Regions from separate parts of the Homo sapiens genome. Here region 1 is linked to region 2. The links are contacts of gene promoters, found by promoter capture Hi-C in blood cells and fetal thymus (Javierre and others, 2016). All regions are on one chromosome and are shown on one strand. Each heading gives the region's core, a stretch centred on a gene start or on the middle of the fragment in contact. The rest is flanking DNA. Distances are from core to core; before and after follow the strand shown. Region 1 overlaps CFAP298-TCP10L (CFAP298-TCP10L readthrough). Region 2 holds the start of MRAP-AS1 (MRAP antisense RNA 1).

Evidence for each region. The method cuts DNA at HindIII sites, captures the fragments that hold promoters and counts their contacts. A CHiCAGO score of 5 or more calls a contact.
Region 1: a contact is called between a fragment that was not itself captured here and the fragment with the promoter of MRAP-AS1 in region 2, in 1 of 17 cell types (endothelial precursors). The highest score is 5.0, in endothelial precursors.

What each region holds. Positions count from the first base shown.
Region 1 is chr21:32,607,544-32,611,772 of GRCh38, forward strand. CFAP298-TCP10L (CFAP298-TCP10L readthrough) reads right to left here. Exons shown (of 12, transcript NR_146639.2): 2 at 2,295-2,462; 3 at 106-173. CFAP298 (cilia and flagella associated protein 298) reads right to left here. Exons shown (of 7, transcript NM_021254.4): 2 at 2,295-2,462; 3 at 106-173. Among named protein-coding and RNA genes, the nearest start is that of CFAP298, 2.7 kb to the right of the region's middle. The HindIII fragment of the contact is 1,162 bases long and covers 670-1,831 here.
Region 2 is chr21:32,307,335-32,313,085 of GRCh38, forward strand. MRAP-AS1 (MRAP antisense RNA 1) reads right to left here and starts at 1,401. Exons shown (of 2, transcript NR_187556.1): 1 at 1,185-1,401. MRAP (melanocortin 2 receptor accessory protein) reads left to right here. Exons shown (of 3, transcript NM_001379228.1): 3 at 4,350-4,956. The coding sequence ends at 4,662. It overlaps URB1 (URB1 ribosome biogenesis factor), which reads right to left. Exons shown (of 39, transcript NM_014825.3): 39 at 3,684-5,751. The HindIII fragment of the contact is 11,077 bases long and covers 1-5,751 here.

The sequences.
Region 1 (4,229 bases), core at 1-2,500, 300 kb after region 2:
GATCGCACCATTGCACTCCAGCCTGGGCAACAAAAGCAAAATTCCATCTCCAAAAAAAAAAAAAAAAACCCAACAAGTTTTAGTGCATCATTTAAAAAAGCCAACCTTAGATATTATTGCTTTGGCTTCTTCTATAGTCTTCTTTAACACTTGCTTCATCTTCTCATTTGGAGCTATAAAAATAAAAAGGAGAGAGGGAGAAAGAGCTGTCAAATACAAAGCCTCTTCTGAAATACCTCAATCCCCTCTGTCTGAGTCAGGGGGTAAATGAACTGAGAGAGAGTGCGAGTGTGGAATTTAGGGAAGAGAAGCAAGAAACCTGGCTGCCGGAAGTTAGGTGAAGACCTCTTCCCAACAGCAGAGACCTGGAGTGTGCTTTACGCAAAGTGGCAAAGGCTACAAAAAACAGAAATGCATGTCGTTGGGTAAACAGGGCCGGTGAACTTTTTCTGGAAAGGGCCAGAGAGTAAAATTTGAGGCTTTGCAGGCCACACAGTCTTGTTGGGTGGGATAACTCAGCTCTGCCACGTAGCACAAGAGCAGACAATACTTAAATAACTGGGGTAGCTGCGTCTCCTTACAATTTTATTTACAATAGGCAGCTGGCTAAATTTGACCTGTAGCCCATAATTTGGTGACCCCTAGATCAGGAAAAAATAATAACTTGAAAGCTTAGAAGCCAAAAAAAAAAAAAAAAAAAAGAAGAAGATGGAATGCCCAAACCTAGGGAAAATGGGGCAAGTTGAAACCATACATTCCTAGTAAATAACAGTATTAATTAGACATTGAAAATATTAGAAACACAAGATTGTATTATAATAGAAGTGGTTAGGCTGGGCGTAGTGGCTCACGCCTGTAATCCCAGCACTTCGGAAGGCCAAGATGGGTGGATCACCTGAGGTCAGGAGTTCGAGACCAGCCTGGGCAACATGCTGAAACCCTGTCTCTATGAAAAATACAAAAATTAGCCGGGCATGGTAGCAGGCATGTGTAATCCCAGCTACTCTGGAGGCTGAGGCAGGAGAATCACTGGAATCCGGGAGGCAGAGGTTGCAGTGAGCCGAGATTGTGCCACTGCACTCCAACCTGGGTGACAGAGTAAGACTCTGTCTCAAAAAAAAAAAAAAAAAAAAAAAAGGTGGTTAATTTAAGAACATATTACATATTGGTTTAATGATGAATAATGAACTGTTAACTGGTTCTCATATTTTTTTTCCTCATCTTACCACATCTTCTTACGTAAGAAAGCTGTGGAAGACAACCATTTTTCAGGTTAACATTGAAAGGAAAAAATACTAGGAATTCTTACTATCCCTGATATTTAAAAAAATGTATTTTTGAGCTGCTAAAGGCCTTGCAGGAATACTGTTCTTTTACTCCTAACAGTGTTTTAGGGCTGTTCAATTACAGTGTTTTAAATGGCGCTTTTAATGCAGGTTAAAAAGAATAAGCTATCAAAAAGGATTATCATCAATTCCACATGATCAGCCAAACACTGAAAGGAGAGGAATTTCCTCAGTGTTTTGCCGTGTACTGAAGTGCTCTGCCCCAGAGAGAAGCATGTCCTTGATCAGGGAAGTCCATGTGCTGACATGCTTTCCCTTTCCTCTTTCACACAGTCCATCTCGAAAGATCCCCCAACATTTGCGAACAGTAACAAAACACAACTCTGAATACATTGCGGTGAGGACCTGCCAACAATTATTAGGTGGAAACACATGAAATTGCCAATACTCAACCATTTTTGAGCTACAGAAGGGAAAGGGTCATTTCATCTGGTTCGTCGAATACATATAAAAGCAAGCTGCAACTTATTAAAGAGCAAGACAAAAGCTTCCTTTATCTACCTAATTCATCCTAGATTAGAGTTTTACCAAAGGAGCTACAGAGTACAGTATTTTGTAAGTCTGTAGAGAAATGACGAGGTCAATTTTTAAACGTAAAGAACTGCTTTCTCACACCTGTAATCCCAGCACTTTGGGAGGCCGAGACCGGCAGATCATCTGAGGTCACGAGTTCGAGACCAGCCTGGCCAACATGGCAAAACCCCGTCTCTACTAAAAATACAAAAATTAGTCAGGTGTGGTGGCACATGCCTGTAGTCCCAGCTACTCAAGAGGCGGAGGCAGGAGAATCGCTTGAACCTGGAAGACAGAGGTGGCAGTGAGCTGAGATTGTGCCACTGCACTCCAGCCTGGGCTAGAGCAAGAATCCGTCTCAAAAAAAAAAAAAGGAACTGTTTTCATACTTATGCCTGTATCAAGCATGCACATAGAAGAGAAATCCTCACTTACCTTGCCCATTCCTTCGTCCAATATCATCCTTTTTAAACACTGCACCTCCGCTGGGTACGCATTTTTCACCCCATTCATCCTTCAATTTCAATTCTTCAATCTGATCATCGGTCAGTCCTTGCATATTAGGAGGGAGAAATATGCCATGTTCGGCTAATTCTTCCATTTCTTAAAAATAAGTGAAAGACAGTATCACAATCATAACACCTCATACCCCATTGGAATGTAAGCTCCAAAGAGTCAGGGGTCTTGCCCATCTGGCTCACTATTTTATGGAACAAACATTTATATGCCACTTGCTATGTGCCAGACCTGGCCTGGGCCTTTGACACGGGGGCATGGTACTGGTCTTATTCATCCTTGTCTTTTTTTTCTTTGAGACAGGGTCTCCCTCTGTCACCCAGGCAGGAGTGCAGTGGCGCGATCTCAGCTCACTGCAGCGATCTCAGCTCACTGCAGCATTGCCTCCCGGGTTCAAGCGATTCTCACGCCTCAGCCTCCCGAGTAGCTGGGACAACAGGCATGTGTCACCACGTTTTGTATTTTTAGTAGAGACTGGGTTTCACCATGTTGCCCAGGCTAGTCTAGAACTCCTAGGCTCAAGTGATCCGCCCGCCTCAGCCTCTCAAAGTGTCAGGATTACCCGTGTGAGCCACCACGCCCGGCCCCATCCTTGTCTTCTGAAGGCTGAGCACTGGTGCAGAATAAATACATGAATTTTCAGTTCACTAATGTGACTCTTAGCATTCAGCACATTTCCAATTTATAACGTTATAGGAAAAGAAGATGAATTCCTTTTCTCCTCAAATGCTTTAACTTAAAAATAACATTTAATATTGAGTTTGTGTTGGAACCTCAATTAAGAAACTACACATAAGTTTCATGAAAAGAACCATGACCCTCAGGAATTTCTCCACGGTGCAAAACTCACATATTCATATAATGTAATCAATACATTTCATAATAAATCACATATTCATGCAATTTAATAAATCACATAAATGAATATACTATTTATTGCAAATAGTTACGTTTGTATATTCTATATATACACGATAGTTATATAAACAGTAATATCCTAGACCACATCAGGAAGTATCATCCCGTCAAGTTCAAAAACTATGCTGTCTAATGCGGCAGCTACTCGCTCCACTTGGCGATTTAAATTTATTTAAATTAAAATGACCCAGACGCGATGGATCACACTTGTAATCCTAGCACTTTGGGAGGCGGAGGCAGGCGGATCACCTGAGGTCAGGCGTTCGAGACCAGCCTGGCCAACATGATGAAACCCCGTGTCCACTAAAGATACAAATATTAGCTGGGCGTGGTGGTGGGCGCCTGTAATCTCAGATACTTGGGAGGCTGAGGCAGGAGAATAGCTTGAACCCGGGAGGCGAAGGTTGCAGTGAGCAGAGATCGCGCCACTGCACTCCAGCCTGGGCAACAGTAAGACCCTGTCTCTCACACACACACATACCATATATATATATATATATATAATTTATTTATATTTATATATACATATATATAATTTATTTATATTCATATATACTATATATATGGTATTTATTTATATTTATATATATTTAATTAATTAAAATGCAAATGTAAAATTCGGTTGCCTGGCCGCACTAGCCACATTCCAAATGCTCTACGGCCACAAGTGGCCGGCAGCTGCCCAATGGACAGCACAGATGGGGGCCCTTCCACCGCCGGAAAGTTCTGCGGCAAAGCGGGTGCCCTGGAACCTGCGCGGGGTAGGGAGACGGCGCCGCAACGCAACAGGCCGTTTCCAGGGCGGGGAAAGATCACCAAGGCTTCCTCAACTGTAAGGGGCCGTCCCAAAGCCAGGTGGCTCGCTGCTTTACATTGGGCGACTAAAAATAGTAAATTCAGCTTTTAAAAGCCCACCTAGTTCTCATCTCACCCCTC
Region 2 (5,751 bases), core at 151-2,650:
GAGGCTGAGATGGGTGGATCACTTGAGGTCAGGAGTTCAAGTTACCAGCCTAGCCAACTTGGTGAAACCCTGTCTCTACTAAAAATACAAAAATTAGCCGGGCGTGGTGGCACGCACTTGTAATCCCAGCTACTCAGGAGGCTGAGGCAGGAGAATTGCTGGAACCCAGGTGGCGGAGGTTGCAGTGAGCCGAGACTGTGCCACTACACTCCAGTCTGGGCAACAGAGTGAGACTCCGTCTCAAAAAAAAAAAAAAAAAAGAAGTTCTAAAATTAAGCCAGGCCCAGTAGCTCACACCTGCTGTAATCCCAGCACCTTGGGAAGCCAAGGCAGGAGGATCGCTTGAGCCCAGGGGTTCGAGACCCTATCTCCATAAAAAATAACAAAAAGTTAGCTGGGCATGGTAGTGCGCACCTGTAGTCCCGGCTACTCAGGAGGCTGAGGCAGGAGGATCACTAGAGCCCAGCAGGTCAAGGCTGCAGTGAGCTGTGATTGCGCCACTGCACTCTAGCCTGGGTGATAGAACAAGACCCTGTCTCAACAAACAAACAAAAAGTTCTAAAATTAGATTATGGTGATGGTTGCACAACTCTATGGATGTACTGAAGACCACTGAAATTGTACTCTTTAAATGAGTCAACCTCATGGAATGAAAATATATCTCACTAAAGCTGTTAAAGAAAATGAAGCCAACTTGACACCATGGGCATTAAGTCTTGCCGGCCAGCTCACCAGGAACATAAGAACCTTACCTTTGGCCAGGTGTGGGGGCTCACACCTGTAATCCCCGCACTTTGGGAGGCCAAGGTGGGCGGATCACCTGAGATCAGGCCTTTGAGACCAGACTGGCCAACATGGTGAAACCCCATCTCTACTGAAAATATTTTTAAAAAATCAGCCAGGTGTGGTGGTGTATGCCTGTAATCCCAGCTACTCGTGAGGCCAAGCAGGAGAATCGCTTGAACGCAGGAGGCAGAGGTTGCAGTGAACCGAGATTGCACCACTGCACTCCAGCCTGGGCAAGAAGAGAGAAACTCTGTCTCCAAAAAGAAAAAAAAAAGAAAAAAGAAAAAGAAAGATCCTTACCTTAGGCACCTATGGCCAGCATCTGTTCTCAGATGCCTGCTGTGTGCCACTAAATTGGAGGTGAAATCCAGGAGTTTTAAGGAGTAATTGGAACCCACCTTGTTTTATGTTAATTCTGTTGTGCTAGAGGATTGGCTGACACATCCAATGTTCCCTTCTAGGCTAATCAGCCCTCACAGCTGCTGCTCTCCTAATGACTGTTCTTAGGAGGGACCCTATATTTTGCCATCGCTCACCCGAAGAGGGCCTGTCCAGTGGCTGGCCCATGCCCTTGGAAACGTGTGCCCTGGCAAAAGAGCTGGGACTGGTCAGATTCTCATCTTTGGAATTTGGAATCTAGAACCTGAGGGATGGACCTGGTGGCTATGGGGGCTGCACTGATTGGTCCAGGAGGAGGACTAGGGCTGGGTGCCATTATAGACCATTATGTCCATTACGGACGGAAGTCTTGGGGACTGGAAACCCTAAGCGTAGGAAGCTGGTCAGCAGAGAGATGAGCCAAACTGTGCTGAGGAAGAGCTGAGTGGCCTTGGAGCCCCTGAGCCAGTGCGTCCCATGCCAGGTCCCGTGAAGAGCCGTGGACTCGCGCATTGGCACAGCGTCTTAGTGTTTTCTGTTGCTGTAACAGAATACCTGAGGCTGAGTAATTTATGAAGAAAAGAGGCTTATTTAGCTCATGGTTCTGAAGGCTTAGAAGTCTAGGAAGCATGGCACCGACATCTGCTTAGCTTCTGGTGAGGGCCTCATTTTGTAAAAAGATCTAATTCAGTCTAGAGAAAAAAAAAACTCATTACCTCTTAAAGGTCCCAGCTCCCAGTGTTGCCACACTGGGGACCAGGTCTCCACGAGTTTTGGTGGGGACAAACCATACCACAGCCCAACATTACCTTGAAGGGGCCTCTGATTCTCCTCCCCGCCCCTGCCTGCCCTGCCCGTGGTGTCTCACCCACCAGGGCTACACTCGCCAGGCCATTTCCGCTCACCTTTGGTCACATATGGAAGGTAGCTTTAGAGCAATGAAGAAATTCATTTTTTTTTTTTTGTTTTTGAGACAAGAATCTCGCTGTGTCACCCAGGCTGGAGTGCAGTGGCGTGATCTCGGCTCACTGCAACCTCCACCTCCCAAGTTCAAGCTATTCTCTTGCCTCAGCCTCCCGAGTAGCTGGGATTACAGGCACCCGCCACGACGCACAGCTAATTTTTGTATTTTTAGTAGAGACAGGGTTTTGCCAAGTTGGCCAGGCCAGTCTCAAACTCCAGACCTGTAATCCTAGCACTTTGAGAGGCCGAGGTGGGTGGATCACCTGGGGTCAGGAGTTCGAGACTGGCCTGGCCAGCTTGGCGAAACCCTGTCTCTATTAAAAATACAAAAATTAGCTGGGCATCGTGGCCGGTGCCTGTAATCCCAGCTACTCGGGAGGCTGAGGCAAGAGAATCGCTTGAACCTGGGAGGCAGAGGTTGCAGTTAGCCGAGATGGCATCACTGAGGTCAGGAGCCACTGTGCACAGCCTGAAATCTGTTCTTTTCTTTCAGTTTTTAGAACTCACATTCAATTTAAGCACATTTTTATACCCAAGACACATCTGAGGGATAAACGAGTGATGTCACCTTTCTTTACTACTCTTCTGAGATGACCTGCAGCCGCCCTATGCCAGGGAAGGTGCAAAGATCCCTGGTCTGGTCCGGCAAGCCCAGGGGCTGCCTCCACCACGCCCAGCTCCCTGGGGGGCACAGGCCTTCTGGGCTATTTCACAGGGGCAAACTGATGACACTATACATCCTGACCAGCTACATGGCTTACTAAAGAAAATGCTCTCAAGGCACTTGGTAACATTCCTGGAATGCTCAGGGCGGCAAAGTGGATCCTCAGCAAGATTTAGGAGTCATTCCCTGAGGAGCTGACACCTTCCCATGATGGGGGGGGGAGGGGAGGAGGGAGGTGGGGAGAGCATTCTTAGGCGAGTGCCATCTGAAAGCATGGCCTCTGCCCAGTGGGTTCATCACTTGGTACTCTTCATTTGTGCCAGCGCTGTAACCACATTTAAGTCGTTTTATACATCATCTCATTTCATCCTGAGGATATCTGTGAGCCAATATTGTCCCATTTTATGGATGACGTTAAAGGCAGCTGGGAAGTGGTGGCCAGAGCTCACTCCAGATGGCCATGTCCACTGCCCCAGCACTTCCCGGGCAGGAGAATCCACCCAGGGAGGACACATTTCTTTTTTTTTTCTTTTTTTTTTTGAGACTGAGTCTTGCTCTGTTGCCAGGCTGGGGTGCAGTGGCGCAATCTTGGCTCGCTGCAACTTCCGACTCCTTGGTTCAAGTGATTCTCCTGCCTCAGCCTCCTGAGTAGCTGGGATTACAGGCGCCCACCACCACACCCAGCTAATTTTTGTATTTTCAGTAGAGACGGGGTTTCCCTATGTTGGCCAGGATTGTCTCGATCTCCTGACCTCATGATCCACCTGCCTCTGCCTCCCAAAGTGCTAGGATTACAGGTGTGAACCTCCATGCTTGGCACAGGGAGGATGCATCTCTAGCCAAGTGTTTTAGTTTGTTCTCGGCTGCTAAGAAAGACATATCCGAGGCTGGATAATTTATAAAGGAAAGAGGTTTAATGGACTCACAGTTTCACATGGCGGGGGAGGCTTCACAGTCATGGCAGAAGGCAAAGGAAGAGCAAAGCCACATCTTACATGACACAGGCAAAAGGGCATGTGCAGGGAAACTCCCCTTTATAAAACCATCAGATCTCATGAGACTTACTATCACGAGAACAGCATGGGAAGACCCGCCCCCATGATTCAATTACCTCCCACTGGGTCCTTCCCACGACACGTGGGGATTATTACAATTCAAGGTGAGATTTGTGTCGTGACGCAGCCAAACCATATCACCAAGATACAAGTTGGCTTGGGCTATGGATATAAAATGAACTACACTCAGATACAGCGCTGGATGGGAGGTCAACCTGCTCCCCTCCACCCCCCACCCCCCCCATCCTAAATCAATGTAGGAAGAAGTGGCCTCCAGGGAAAGACCTGAGGCCTAGTTCCTGACAAAGCACTTCCTCTCCTCTGAGATTTCTCTAGAATGGCCACCTTTGTGAGCTGGCTGACCCTTCTCAGGAATTTGCCTGTGTGGCCTTCCCTATGGGGTCCGGGCAGATGGCAGGTGTGGCAGGAAACCCCCCAGCCCCACAGTATGGACTGTTCTGCAGCAACTATGATGCCTGCCTCCCACTCTGCTCTGTTCACAGGAACAGCCCCAAGCACCACCAAACATGCCCCTGGAGTCACGGCCTCAACCTCCACCTCTGCATCCAGAAGTGCCTGCCGTGCCACAGGGAACCCCTGGCAACCTCACAGGCTCAGGCGAGCTCAGTGGAGCCAGGGAGCAGAACTGGCCCTGACCAGCCGCTACGACAGGAGAGCTCCTCCACCTTGCCCCTCGGGGGTTTCCAGACCCACCCCACTCTCCTCTGGGAACTGACCCTCAATGGGGGTCCCCTCGTCAGGAGCAAGCCCAGCGAGCCTCCCCCTGGAGACAGGACCTCTCAATTGCAGAGCTGATGTCAGTAAATCGTGGCCATAGCTGAGTGAACTGGTGAAATCAAGCCAACCTGGACACATACGTTCCTCGTTCTTCTTAGAGGCCATTTGCATGTAGCAGAAAGGGCACCTAGGTCAAGTGCAACTAGAGCAGGAGCATCCTATGCCTTTGACAAAGATTGCAGTGGCCCCTCGAGTGCAGAGGTCATCCCAGGTGTTGCTGAGTTTATTGAGCACACCTAGCCTGCTTGCTTACTGCTTATATTTGCTCAGGGAAGAGTAGGAAAATAAAATATATGCAAATCAAGAGGAAAAGCTGTTTGCTTACTAATCTTTACTATGCCACTTTACCATTACTGTGTAATGCGTTATCAGCCCTGAGTTCACCTGGTCCTTCTGTACCTTTGTTAGGATGCTGGGTAAGTTCCCATCCAAGCTCCACTAACACCCGCCGGCTCCCCCAGATGTGATGGCATCTGCCCTGCCAGGTCAGCTCACTGCAGTCTGGGGACCTGAGTTGCACCTTCAACCTCCCCACAGCCTTTCAAAGACAGAGCCCAAGAAAGTGTCTCCCCTGGAGGGCAGGCAGCCAACGCCTGTCAGCAGCCAGGCCGGGTAAGCAGGATCTATGCCCAAATGCTGTCACAGAACACAAAGAGCCCTGGAAGCTGGCAGGAAAGGTCTTCTGGATGTGACTTTATGTGACAGTGGATCTGGGACCCTTGAAAGATCTAGTCCTCTAGTGCCCAGCAGCCTTGTCCCTGGAGAGGAGACAGCATCACACAGCAAATCTCAGAAGACCCATATGTCCCCTACAGCTTTCAGGCAAGGAGGGAGTTGATAGGTTTTATTTTTAAAATAACTGTGCCCCCCGCCCCACTTAAGATATTTCTAATTTAGCATTTTATATTTTAAGTCAGGTGAAGACCATGTTCGATCTATTCTCCATGGGATGAGATTCCCTTCCTCCACACTAAGTGACTGGAAAATACACGAACAAGGTCAGGGCAGTGGATTTAAAAGGGAGAACAAAGAAAAGCAAGACTGATGAGCTCCAGAGATGCAGAAAAGAAGGTGAGGTGCTGAAAATGTGTCCTCACTTGACTGAGC